Linked DNA regions of Homo sapiens: all the other regions are linked to region 3. Evidence: promoter capture Hi-C in 16 types of primary human blood cells and fetal thymus (Javierre and others, 2016). All regions are on one chromosome and are shown on one strand. The core of a region is centred on a gene start or on the middle of the fragment in contact, and the rest is flanking DNA. Distances in the headings are between cores, read along the strand shown. Region 1 overlaps FAM120A (family with sequence similarity 120 member A). Region 2 overlaps FAM120A (family with sequence similarity 120 member A). Region 3 holds the start of CARD19 (caspase recruitment domain family member 19). Region 4 overlaps FAM120A (family with sequence similarity 120 member A).

Region 1 (3,162 bases), core at 213-2,712, 400 kb after region 3:
AGATTCATGGGATATGACGTTGCATAGTGGTGTGGCCAGGTTTGGAAGAAGGGGACTTGAGGGTGCAAGCTGACTGGATGGGTCTGAGAGCTCTTGCTCAGGCCACTGGAAGAAAGCTGCAGGTTGCAAGGCCAGAGGCTGAGGTAGCCTGGTCATGTTCCCTGCCAGCCAGGAAGTCTCAGCCACTTCACCCAGCTTTTCCAGGCTGAATAAAAGGGAGATTCAGTTAGACGGTTGGTGAGGTCTCCTGCTCATAAGTTCTCGATCTTAACTTAATAGGATCTGTATTTCAGAGTTTTCAGAACATGAACTGTATCAAGTCAGTCATATGGCATTATAAATCTCTGATTTGTCTGTTTTCTTCAGGTGATTGTCAGGGATTTTCTTCTTTTTTGGGGAAGTAGGTGTGCCAACAAGTTGGCATCAGTAGAATAGGCAAGGCTCTGTGAAACTCCTGCTGTGTCTCTAGAGAGCTGAAATGCAGCCAGGCACGGTGGCTCATGCCTGTAATCCCAGTACTCTGGGAGGCCGAGGCGGGCGGATCACGAGGTCAGGAGTTTGAGACTAGCCTGGCCAACATGGTGAAACCCTGTCTCTATTAAAAATACAAAAATTAGCCAGGCGTGGTGGTGGGCGCCTGTAATGCCAGCTACTCGGGATGCTGAGGCAGGAGAATCGCTTGAAACCGTAAGGCAGAGGCTGCAGTGAGCGGAGATCATGCCACCGCACTCCAGCCTGGGTGAAAGAGCGAAACTCCGTCTCAGAAGAAAAAGAGAGAGCTGAAACCCTGGGCAGGAACATCCCCAGTCTGTCACTGCCATCCGTTCCCTTGGTACAGATGGCTTGAGATTCCTCTCTGGGCAGGACCAGAGACCGAGCAGAGTGGAAGTCAGGGAAGTCCTAGAGCTAGAACCCAGGGCCCTGACTACCACTTTGGAGTTCTGCTCTTGTGACTACATTGCTTTAAAAGAATTCACGTTTGGTTTGATTCTTTTGTAGTAATCTATTGATTTTCCCTGAAAGTTTTAATGTCATTCAAAATTCTTCTCTAACTTGAAAAGCTGTAGAATATTATACATGTGCTGAATTATAAAAAACATTGTGATACACATGACCAGTGGCACACTAATTTATGAAGGTTTTCCTGCCTTTATTTCAGTCTAGAACAGATGACAAAGTTATTCGATTTAAGAGAGCAATTGGATATTATTCAGCGACTAGTAAGCCTATGTCATTTCATCCACCACATTACTTAGGTAAGTAAATAAAAGCCTGTGATCAATATTGACCATATGATAATCCAAGTAGGTTTAAATATTCACCATATAATCTTGTAGGTTTATGTTTTTGAAACATGATTTTCTGTAGTTATGCCAGTAAGTATAGCCAAACTTCCTGGGCAGACTCAGTAGCAATCCCTGAAAATATTGAGGAGGAAGAGAACTTAACAGCCTTCATAGGATGAAGAAGAATCAGAGGGCATTGTGCAGATGAGGCAGCAGGTCGAGGGGATGTTGACGTCTTGGCAGCTCTGAGATATCCGCTTCTAAATACAGAATTGCCTGAGGACGTAGAAGGGCCTCCACAACTGCAAGTGATTTCATAAATGCAGTGTATTTGTAGTCTCTCTTTTCTTGACCCCTGCCTTTTTTTTTTTTTAATTCTTTTTTGTTGTTGAGCAGAGTATTGCACTGTCGCCCAGGCTGGAGTGCAGTAGTGTGACCTCGGCTCACTGCAACCTCTACCTCCCAGGCTCAAGTGATTTTTGTGCCCCAGCCTCCTAAGTAGCTGGGATTACAGGCATGCGCCACCATGCCCAGCTAATTTTTGTATTTTTAGTAGAGATGGGGTTTCACCATGTTGGCCAGACTTGTCTCGAACTCCTAGCCTCAAGCGATCTGCCCATCTCAGCCTCCCAAAATGCTGGGATTACAGGCATGAGCCACCACGTTCAGCCTGCAAAAGACCAAAAGTTAATTCAGAGATTTGAAATTGGGAAATAAAAATATTTATAAGCTGTTAGCCTGAAGCCTGCTTCATATTGAACGTCTTGTGGAGGTTATAAAGCACTAAACTGTAAGTAGAAGTATGAGAAATAGACCCCAACTCTCATTTAAATTGTGTTGTTTGCTTCATCTAAGTTAACAAAAGAATGATTGCATGTTCAAGAGACTCTTACTGGAAGGAGACTTTGTATTTATTTGAGAAGACTAATTCCAAGATTGAAAGTGGCCTTAAGAGCTGCACCCTTCATTTATTCAAGCATAGTGTCTGCTGTATGCTAGGAACTGGGCATTGGAGATCAGAGGCATGGCACTGGCTTTGGCTGCCTATGTATGTGGCTGGGTGGTGGACAGGGAAACATGGCCTGTGCCGATGCCCTGTAATAAAGGAGGTAGGGCTTGTAACCTGGAGATGGGCATGGAGTGGCTGAATCTCCACTGCGAGGTCAGTAAATGGCAGCAGCCTCCCAGTGGGGCTCTTTGCTGCTCTCTTGCTCCCCTGCAATCCATTTTCTTCCCAGCAGCCAAAGTAATGTTTAAAAATGGCAGTTGGACTGTGCTACTCCCATGCTCAGAATTCCCCATTGGCTTCCCGTCACACTTGGAATAAATTCCCAACTACTTACCTTGCTTCCTCCCCATCATCTGAGACTGCTGGCTTCTCACTCCTGAGCGCAGCCTCCTTTCTTGCCTTGCATGAACCAAGCTAGCTTCTGCCCTGGGCCTCTGGGCCGGCTTTTGTGCCTGGAGGGCTCCTTTCTCTGACCAGCTTGTGTTTGTGCCCTTCTGATTTGTGAGATCCAGGCTGTCGTGTTCTCCAAGGTCTGCCTGGCTTTAAATCTCTGCACACTCCTTGGCTTCTATTTGTCACCACCACCACCCCTTCCCCCGTCACTCCCCACAATGTAAAGTCTAGGGTAATGAGGGCCTATTAGTCACCTTTACTTTTATATCCCCAGTGGATAAATATTTGACTGAATGAATTGATCCACTTGGTTTTTAAATCAAGAGAGTGAAGTGGTGAGATGTGTTTTAGGATTATTTTTGGAAAAGGGGGCACAGAGCATCAGCAGGAGGGAGACTAGCTGTATACTGTTTCATCAGTTAAGGTGAGGCATTATGGGACCAGATCTCAGTGTGTCTACTGTATACCCTGCAC
Region 2 (3,149 bases), core at 301-2,800, 420 kb after region 3:
GCATACCCTGTTTATAGCAGAGAAGTATAACATTAATAAATGTTGATTTGTTGTATGTGCAGAGAAGTATAAAATTAATAAATGTTTATTTGCTGTATATGCAATGCCAAGACTCTAAAATGAAGTAAAGAGTTGCAATTGAATATTCAAATTTTTAAATTAACCTCTAGCAAGATAATATATTGAGTACCCATTGAATCAGAATCTCTGGTTGGGGCCCCCAAATTTGCATTTTAAATAAGCACCTCAGTCAGTCTTTAGCACACTGAAGTTTGAGAACAACTGCTTGATGGTCTTGGAAGCCCTTATGTGCCAGATTTCTAAGGCATGTGCATTTTGTTGTAAAACGTGACTCATGTCAGCAAGGTCCAAGTGTCTGTACAATACAGTTTTTGTCTTAGTAAGAAATGTTCTTTCTAAACTGTGAAACATAGGTAAGAAGTAAGACAAAAAGCAAAAGAAGTAAGCTTTATGACCCCAACAAGAGTTCCATGCTAGTGATGGAGATGTGGAAACCAGGTCAAGGTGCTGACTTGGGGACGTGGGTGGTGACTGGGGCATGTTTCAGTTGAGGTGCTTGTTCCTCCGGTGGGGAGGGATTGAGAAGAATGTGAGTTGCCCATCTAATTTGGCAAGTTGTCTTTGTTAGGATGAGCTGAACTTGGAGTGAGTAGGACTGCCTGAGCATGTCCTGTCTTTTCTGGGTATGCACTTCCTACCTGTCTGTGAAGGTTCTGGTCAGCTTTTTGGAGCTCTGGGCATCTGACCTCTCCAAGTGCTTATTGTCTTTATTCCTGGTATGGCATCTTTACTGTTTTCTGGAGATGCATCTTGTTTCTGCCACTGGAATTTGACCTGCTCGGGGTCTTGTGTTTTGCCATCCTTGTGGTATGAAGTGCCATGAGGAATGCAGGGTACACCCTATAATAAGGAAGAGACAGACATGTTAGACTTGAGATGAATGAAGGCAGAGGAGACAAGGGTGCTTGTTCCTGAAGGCTTTGGGGTCAGAAACTAGCATTCAACTTGGGGTGAAACCCTTGATCACAGGCATCCTTTGCTTGTGGCAGGTGCAGGGGTATGACGCGTGTGCCAAGTAGAGACAGTGTTCATGATTTTCAGCAAGGGTTCTAGTGTGTTGAATTGGTTGTATCTGCAGTGTATAATGTGCCCCTTAGGCTGTGCATAAGAGAACAAAGAATTGCTTTTATAGTTTAGAAAAAAAGTCACTACTTTTTTACCCTTTGGTTTAGAATTGAATGAGGACCCCGGGACCTACGTTGCCTTTTCAGGATGGCCCTAAGGGAACAGAAATTATTCATTCTCTTAGCAAGAAATACTTGGGCATTTATTTACCAGTGAACAGGGCAGAGGACAGGAGTGATGAGGTCTGTGCGCAGAGCTTGCATTCTGGAGGAGAGTATGTAAGCAGTGAACATAGAAGCCCTGACGAGTGCGTGAAGAAGACATGCCGAGAGTGAGGAGCGGGGAACTGGGAGCACCAGAGCAAAGGAGGGCAGGAAAACTGGGAGAAAGAAGTGAGCCAGCTGATGGCCTGTGGTGTGAGGACCAGCAGGGCTGGGCCGTGCACAGCTGGATGTGTTCTACGTGCCACGGGAAACATCTAGAGCAAACTTGTTCATCCCGTGGCCCACGGGCCGCACGCAGCACAGGATGGAGGCCCAACACAAATTCATAAACTTCCTTAAAACATTGAGATTTTTTTTCTGATTTTTTTTTTAAAGCTCATTAGCTATTGTTAGTCTATTTTATATGGGGCCCAAGACAATTCTTCTTCTTCCAGTGTGGCCCAGGGATGCCAAAAGGTTAGACACTCCTGATCCAGAGTGTGCTTAGCATGACCTTAGGCTGGAGAGACCCTGGTGTTTCTTTGGAGGTGAGTTTACTCACACCTTGATGCCATTTGCCCTCGGGACAGTGGGTCTCCGGACAGTCAGACCATTCAGCTGGTGGAAACAGTTGAACTCCAGAACTCTGGTCTTAAAATATATTGATGGTAGAAATGTTTATATATATGTATGTATTTTTAAATTTTTTTGAGATGGAATTTTACTCTTGTTGGCCAGGCTGGAGTGCAATTGCATGATCTCGGCTAACTGCAACCTCTGCCTCCCAGGTTCAAGCGATTCTCCTGCCCCAGCCTCCTGACTAGCTAGGATTACAGTTGCCTACTACCATGCCCAGCTAATTTTTTGTATTTTTAGTAGAGATGAGGTTTCACCATGTTGGCCAGGCTGTTCTCAAACTCCTGACCTCAGGTGATCCCCCCACCTCGGCCTCCCAAAGTGCTGGGATTACAGGCGTGACCCACCGTGCCTGGCCAGAAACATTTATAATTTCTAGACTGTAAAATAGCGGAGGCGATTGGCCTTCTAGATGCATAGCAAGGTGTGACCCCACCTGCTGCACTCTGCCTTTCATTGTCCAGACCTAACTTCTCCTGTCTTCTGTAGTGTACGTTCAGTGATACCACAAGGAAGGAATAATGTGGGACACCCTGCAAAATAAATGGCCTAGTTTCCCCAACAATGAATCAGTGGCACTCTTTTAAAGGGTGGTAGTGATGGGCGATGGGGATTGTTACATAAAAAAAGAGACAACAAAAAAAGAAAAAAGCTTCCTATGAATTAAAAAGGTAAGTGGTTTTCTAAAATTATTATTATTATTTTTTTAGGGACAGGGTCTTGCTGTTTCACCCAGGCTGGAGTGCAGTGGGACCATCATAACTCACTGTAGCCTCAAACTCCTGGGCTCAGGTGATCCTCACACCTTAGCATGTTCCACCTGAGACGAAAGACATGTTCCACCACACCCAGCTAACCTGTATTATTTGTAGTTATGGGGTACCGCTGTATTGCCCAGGCTGGTTTCAAACTCCTGGCCTCAAGCAATCCTCCTACCTCTGCCGAAAGTGCTGGGATTACAGGCATGAGCCACTGTGTGCAGCTGATGGCAACTGTTTTAAATGGAAAAAGATACAACTGTGCTGGGTATGGTACTGTACACCTGTAGTCCCAGCTACTCGGGAGGCTGAGGTGGGAGGATCACTTGAGCCCAGGAGGTTGAGGCTGCAGTGAGCTATGATCATACCTGTGAATGGCCAATGCGCTCTCTCCTGGGCAATGTAG
Region 3 (3,057 bases), core at 52-2,551:
CCTTCACGGGTCTCCACTTCCTGGCTGGGGCCCAGTGCATTCACATCATGTGGGGCTAGGAGCTTCTTGTGGCGGGCTCCGGAGCTGGAAATGCCAGGCCTACGAGAGGGAAAGCAGGAAGGAAAGCGGGAGGGAAGTGGAGTTGGCCCAAGGTCACTCATTTTACAGTCCAGGAAACTGAGGCTCAGGCAGGTTAAGTGACCTCTCTAGTTCGGGTCACACTGTCAAGCTAGTGTCTTCTTTTGAAGGTGGGGGACTGGGGTCCCCCAAGAAGGTGTCCCCCCCCCACCCCGCCGAGCGAGGTCACACCGTTGAGTCCTTCTCCCCTGGATTTGGGAAAGCATCACTGGGCACTGCCTCCTTTGGCTGGTCCCTGTGGCGTACTGGACGCCCACCGGCCTTTTGCCCCAGGCCTGGCCCTGTACTCCCCAGGGCCTGACTTTCTGTATGACGTTGGATCAGTCACGTCCCCTCTCAGTTTCAGTTTTCTCATCCAAGGGGTGGGGCGCGAGGCCGGGAGCGGGGAGGTGGACTGAGCCGGCCGGCGGGCCACCTGGATCCCGACTCCGCCACTCAACGCGGCAGGGCCCGGAAGGGCGGGCCCAAGACGGGCAGGGCTCCGGGCAGGAGCGGGCGCCTCCAGGGAGGCGCGCGGCGGTCGTAGCTGAGGCCGCCTTGAGGGCGGGACTTGGACGCGGGCAGGGCTCGAGTGAGAGGCGGGGTTAAAGGCCGCTGCGACGGCGTTATAGACGCCGGCGGGACCGGGGCCCAGCGAGGGGAGGGACTCTGGGCCCCTCGCGGCGTCTTAACTGACGCTGGGAGGGGCGGGAGTCCGGTGGCGCCCGCCCACGCCCGCAGTCGCCCGCCCACGCCCGCAGTCGCATGGCAGAGCAGGAAGGGGCGGGGCTCAGGGCCCCTGGAGGCGCGGAGGCCGACGACGGAGGGGGGCGGGGCTCGAGTAAGGGGCGGGGCCCGGTGGGGGGTTCCTTGAGGCTCGGAAGCCGTCGTCGGAGGGGGCGGGGTTCAGGTGCAGGGCGGGGCTCAGAACTCCGGGAGAGGCGGAAGCCGACGCCGGAGGGGGCGGGGCTCGAGTGAGGGGCAAGGCTCCAGGATCCTCGCAGCGGCCTATCCCAGGACGGCAAGGGGGCGGGACTCGAGTGAGAGGGGCGGAGTTTAGAGCCCTGGGGGAGCCGTAGCGGGCGCGGAAGGGGCGGGGCCTAACGGTAGGGGGCGGGGCTCGTCAAAGGGCGGGGTTTAGAGTCCCCGAGGCTACACAGCCAAAGCCGGGGGGCTGGCCTAGCCAAAAGGGGCGGGCGAGCACGGCCCGCGGGCGGCGTTCGCTGGAGCTGGTGGACCGGGCGGCTGACCGAGGGGCGGACGCGCGGCGGGGCAGACCGCTGGGGACTGCGGGCGGCGCTGTGTCCGTCGCCATGACAGGTGGGCACGGGGTCGGCTGGGCGGCAGGGATGCGGGCGCCCTGGATGGGTGGCCCGGCCCGGGGGTCCGGCTGCCTTGCGAGTCGCCTGCAGGCCGCGCCTGGGCAGCGGGGGCCGAGTGACCTTGGCCCGTCAGCTGTCGGTGGTGCGCGAGTGCACCCCCGCGAAGTGGTGGGTGTCCCGGGGCTTCTACCCGGCGGGGCCGTGCCAGCCGAGGCGGTGCCGGGCATGATGGGTGGTGGCCAGGTGCGGGGCCCGAAGAGGGCGGGGGCTACAAGGCAGCTCCAGGGTGGGGCTGCACAGCCGCGGTCTGGGCTCAGCCACTGCCAATGTGTGTGTGTCCCGTGGTGGGGAATTTGGTCTGAAAGAGTAGGAGGTGGTAGAAATGACACCGGAGAGAATTCACAGCGGTCCTGCTGTGATTCTGGCCACGGAAACAACGCTCCATCCTTACAACCACCCCAGCGAGGTCGCGGGACAGGCGATGCGTTCCTCGGCGGCATGTGATTCCTGTGGGACTCTTGGAGTCTCCCAGACTCCTTCGGTGGTCCACGACGCTCTTGCCCCTGTTTAGTTCTAAGAGAATCGGGGACAGCGACTGGACCCCCCAAGGTTGTTGTGCTCCACGCTAGTGGCCCCAGCCCAGCCTTCCTCCCCAGGGCCTCTCTGGTCTGGGGACCTGCCCACCATCCTCCTGATCCCAAACAGGGTGACTCTGCCCTGTGGACCTTCCCCTGTTGGAGAAGCCCCATGAGGGTGATGGGCTGGTAAGGGACCCCATGGCAGCCCGGCCAGGGAGTATGGGGGTTCCCAGAAGCTACACTTCATTCTTACTGTTCTGTTTCATGGAGCAGAATTGGCTCAGGGGCTCAGGGTAGCCCCAGAAGTCCCTAGTCCTCTCTCGGTGCTCGCTCTCTTGAGTCTCAGCCTAGGTCCTGCCCACAAATAGGATCTCATGGGCTGGAAACTGATGACTTCCAGGACACCAGGCCAGAAGAGACTTCCAGCCTAGGCCACAAGAGACCCCAGCTGCCACCTGCTCCCCTTTGTCCTCCCTTCTAACTCTTCTTATTTGTGGCTCTCATTTCTGAGCACTTACTGTGCATTGGACCCTGTGTTGGGTGATTCCTGTTTGAAAATGATCAGATGGGGACACCTGGAATATCTCGTCTGTGTACAGATGGGGAAACAAAGTCTTAAATTGTGCCCTGCCCAGGCTGGGATTCCGTAATTCCCTTAGTGAGTTCATCAGAATGCGTGGGACACAACTCAGAGCTGTGTTGGTCTCCAGGGAGCCCTGTCCCAGGGACTGGGTGTTGGCAGAGCCTGAGGCCTTGCTGTCCATTAAGGAGCCTTCCTGCACAAAGGGACTTTGTCCCTTTCTGCCTGTCAGGGAAGCTTCCTTGCATAAGGGGACCCTGGAGCTGGGAAACCACATCAGGCAGGGGTCCCTGAAGGCTCTGACTATAGGCCTCACCTTGTCCAGTGTATGCTTCCTACCTGCTATGTCTACTCACTGGGCCTGGAGACATTCCCTCACAACCCTTAGTTTTTGGGATGGGGAACCAAGGCCCATGGAGCACAGCTCTGGGAGGGTCATATGGACAGCCCTGCGAGGCTG
Region 4 (3,414 bases), core at 794-3,293, 380 kb after region 3:
GATATCCTGACATTGTCAGACTGACCTTTTGCAAACTGGTGTTTATTTTTAATACTGTGCTGTGAAGTTGTTTCAGTTTTATGCAGTTCTTAGGTTGAATGCTGTTGGGACTGCACTAGAAATTCCCGTCATTCTTGAAGCAGCTGCAAAGATTCTGCCTGCTGTATGTCGCTTTATGTTAAGAGATGAAGATTTGTTCTCAGTTTCTGTTTGAAAGTTTTCTACTATAGGTGACAATATGCAGCACTTTTGAAAGTTTCCCTATGTTACTTAAGATGATTGCTTTTATGTTATCCATGTTTATATTCCAGGAAATCACATTCTGCCTGATGAAGATCTGGCTTCCTTTCACTGGAGTTTACTTGGTCCAGAACATCCACTAGCCTCACTAAAGGTACAAATTTCACTTTATTTTTCTAGCATTTGTAATAATCAACTGTGAGTTTGCTATTACTTTAATAACATGTTAGGCCCTTTATTGGTGATGCTACAAAGTTAGCAATACCATGTTTTCCCATAATTTCAGGATCTGCACTGCCTTAAAAAGCAAGCAACAATGCTACCATCCCTTGTTCTCAACACCTATATGTTAGGTAAATGTATAAATGTCCTTGAAAATTTCCCTTAAGGAATTCTTTGTGCTGTGTACCTAGATAGAAGGAAATCTTTGAGCTGATGTTTTATATATTAATTTTCTTACTTAAAAATTTTAATTTTGTCTTTAGGTAGTATAGTTACTTGTCACTTAGAGCAACATCTTTGCATAGTTGATAAATTTCATAACTAATTTTCTACAATTATAAAATAGTTTATAAAGCTTTTTGGATGATGAGGGAGACTCAAATGGAAGTGATCCATTTGTACTATTTTATTAAAACTTAATATTCTTTTTCTCCCTTTTGATTCCCTTCCTGTTTGTGATAGTAATAAACATCAGAGATGAGGCACTTAATTCTGATTTTCTGCAGTGGAAGTGTCTGTGTTTGATGTGAGCATAGGAGTAATGAGTGAGATATGCACGAGGCACTGGAAAACTTCAGCTTGGACTTGTTAGTGACTCCTGTGATTGTAATGATCATTTGTCAGTTCAAGTGCCTTTCTTGACTTGGGGAATTAGGAAGATGGGGACCTAGACTTTGTATCTGCTTCCCACCCTGGGACTGCTTCCTTACAGTAAAGAGTGGCGGTTAAATTGGGTGTTTTCCGAAGGGCTGTAAAATTTTGAATGTTGTCGTAATTACCCTCCCTCCATAAACAATTTTAATTGGTGGCTAGTTTCAAATGGGAGTTTTTCTTCCTACATTTTAATTTACCTTTAACTCTGGTGATACCCAAAAGCTGAAGTAGAATTCCTTTCCTCCTTTCATTTTGTTCCCTGCTGTTTCATCTCTGGCATGCTTTTTCTTTTTCATCTCTGGCATGCTATAAAATGTTCTCCTTTTCACCCTAATGGGGTTTGGTATGGACTGTTTTCAACTTCTTGTTCAAAAATTAGTTTTTCTTCTCTTGTTAGAAATTACATTTCTGGCCATAGAATCCCTCCTGTATGTTTTCATGAATGAAGTGATGTGATCTGTCATTCGGACTCTAAGCTTCTGGTGATGCCATGATTGAAATGTGGATTGGGGAAATGCAGCGTGTAATCAGCTGGACTTAAGAGCACTGCACCTGTGCTCAGTAGCTCTGTTAAGCATTATGCTTTTGTAAGTGAGACACAAATGAAAGCTTGTTTCCTACAAGATTTATTTTGTTTTGAAGAGCAGGAGTGAGATACTCCCAAGGTTTCTGGCTATATGTGTATGTCTAAGTTAAACTAGCCCTGCTTCATATGTCACAGGGTTAGAAGTGAAGAGCTGTTTGAAGAATTATTGGAAAACCAGCTCAATCTATTGCCAAGTGAATAACATCATTATATGTGTGTTTTTCCTAAATTTTGTTGAGAAAATCTTTAAGTATTGAAATGTGGAAAGAATAGAGAAATGTGTATCCGTATATCCCCCATCTTGGTTCAACAATTATAAACATTTTGCCATAAAGTATATGTCTGTGTTTTGTTTTGTTTAACAAAAACTATTTGGAAGTAAGTTGCAGATATGACACTTTACCCATGAAAATGTCAGCTTGCTCCACCACTTCAGCTTGCTCCATCACTTCCTAAAAATAAGGACATTTTGATACTTTATCATATTACTCCTATGACATCAACTAAATTAATAATTCTTTAATATCTTTTTTTTTGAGACAGGGTCTTGCTCTGTCACCTGTGCTGGAGTGCAGTGTCTAATATCATTTAATATTAAGCCCATATTCAAATTTTTTCAGAGTCATTTATAGGTTTTTTTTTTTTTGATCGAGATCCAGTCAAGCTTTATGCATGCATTTTGATATTAGCTGAGTACTTTTATGGCATATTGGAGAAGAAATCCTAAATTATTTTTCAGATGACTTGATACGTTGTAGGATTTTAAAGTCACACATGAAATGCAAGTGCACCTGGTTTTGAGATAAGTTCAGAAATTGCATTTGTTAGCCACTTTAATGTTTTTATTTGAGACAGAGTCTTGCTCTGTCACCCAGGATGGAGTACAGGGGTGAGATCTCGGCTCACTGCAACCTCTGCCTCCAGGGTTCAAGTGATTCTCCTGCCTCAGCCTTCCAAGTAGCTGGGATTACAGGCGCCTGCCACCACGCCAGCTAATTTTTGTGTTTTTAGTAGAGGCAGGGTTTCACCATGTTGTCCATATTCGTCTCGAACACCTGACCTCAGGTGATCCACCCACCTTGGCCTCCCAAAGTGCTGGGATTATAGGTGTGAGCCACAGCACCCGGCTCACTTTAATGTTTTGACCCTTCATTCACATTTTTGTATGCAGCACCATTTCAGTGATTTTAATATACATAGGGGAAATTGGATGTGGTTTTACTCCCCATGAGCATGACTGATGGATGTGCTACAGAATTGTATGTATCCCACCTGCTATTTTAGTCTCTTTGTTTTTCCCCAGTTGTAAAACCAATTGCATCTTTTGAAAATTTGGATAGTTGTTACATATCTTCCATAATATTCTGAGTTTTATTTTCTGAAATATTCTTTGTGTTTTTGTATTATGTTGAAATGATGAGAGGTTTAAGATTAGGGTATTGCATTTTTTTTTTTTTTTTTTTTTTTTTTGAGACGGAGTCTCGCTCTGTCGCCCAGGCTGGAGTGCAGTGGCGGGATCTCGGCTCACTGCAAGCTCCGCCTCCCGGTTTCATGCCATTCTCCTGCCTCAGCCTCCCAAGTAGCTGGGACTACAGGCGCCCGCCACTACGCCCGGCTAATTTTTTGTATTTTTAGTAGAGACGGGGTTTCACCGTTTTAGCTGGGATGGTCTCGATCTCCTGACCTCGTGATCCGCCCGCCTCGGCCTCCCA

Evidence for each region. Contacts are between HindIII fragments. The CHiCAGO score rates a contact against its expected background, and 5 or more counts as called.
Region 1: a contact is called between a fragment that was not itself captured here and the fragment with the promoter of CARD19 in region 3, in 2 of 17 cell types (total CD4 T cells and neutrophils). The highest score is 6.6, in total CD4 T cells.
Region 2: a fragment that was not itself captured here is called in contact with the fragment with the promoter of CARD19 in region 3 in 2 of 17 cell types (monocytes and naive CD8 T cells); the score reaches 5.5 in monocytes.
Region 4: a fragment that was not itself captured here is called in contact with the fragment with the promoter of CARD19 in region 3 in 1 of 17 cell types (total CD4 T cells); the score reaches 5.1 in total CD4 T cells.

What each region holds. Positions count from the first base shown.
Region 1 is chr9:93,497,631-93,500,792 of GRCh38, forward strand. It overlaps FAM120A (family with sequence similarity 120 member A), which reads left to right. Exons shown (of 18, transcript NM_014612.5): 5 at 1,160-1,256. Among named protein-coding and RNA genes, the nearest start is that of FAM120AOS, 46 kb to the left of the region's middle. The HindIII fragment of the contact is 6,327 bases long and covers 1-3,162 here.
Region 2 is chr9:93,517,200-93,520,348 of GRCh38, forward strand. The region is part of intron 7 of FAM120A (family with sequence similarity 120 member A); the gene reads left to right. Among named protein-coding and RNA genes, the nearest start is that of PHF2, 58 kb to the right of the region's middle. The HindIII fragment of the contact is 2,170 bases long and covers 466-2,635 here.
Region 3 is chr9:93,094,916-93,097,972 of GRCh38, forward strand. CARD19 (caspase recruitment domain family member 19) reads left to right here and starts at 1,302. Exons shown (of 6, transcript NM_032310.5): 1 at 1,302-1,437. The coding sequence starts at 1,431. LOC101927993 (a long non-coding RNA gene) reads right to left here and starts at 595. Exons shown (of 4, transcript NR_188444.1): 1 at 453-595; 2 at 1-99. RefSeq lists an enhancer at 290-339 and silencers at 450-759, 780-1,529, 1,550-1,659. The HindIII fragment of the contact is 15,908 bases long and covers 1-2,832 here.
Region 4 is chr9:93,475,945-93,479,358 of GRCh38, forward strand. FAM120A (family with sequence similarity 120 member A) reads left to right here. Exons shown (of 18, transcript NM_014612.5): 3 at 312-394. Among named protein-coding and RNA genes, the nearest start is that of FAM120AOS, 24 kb to the left of the region's middle. The HindIII fragment of the contact is 641 bases long and covers 1,724-2,364 here.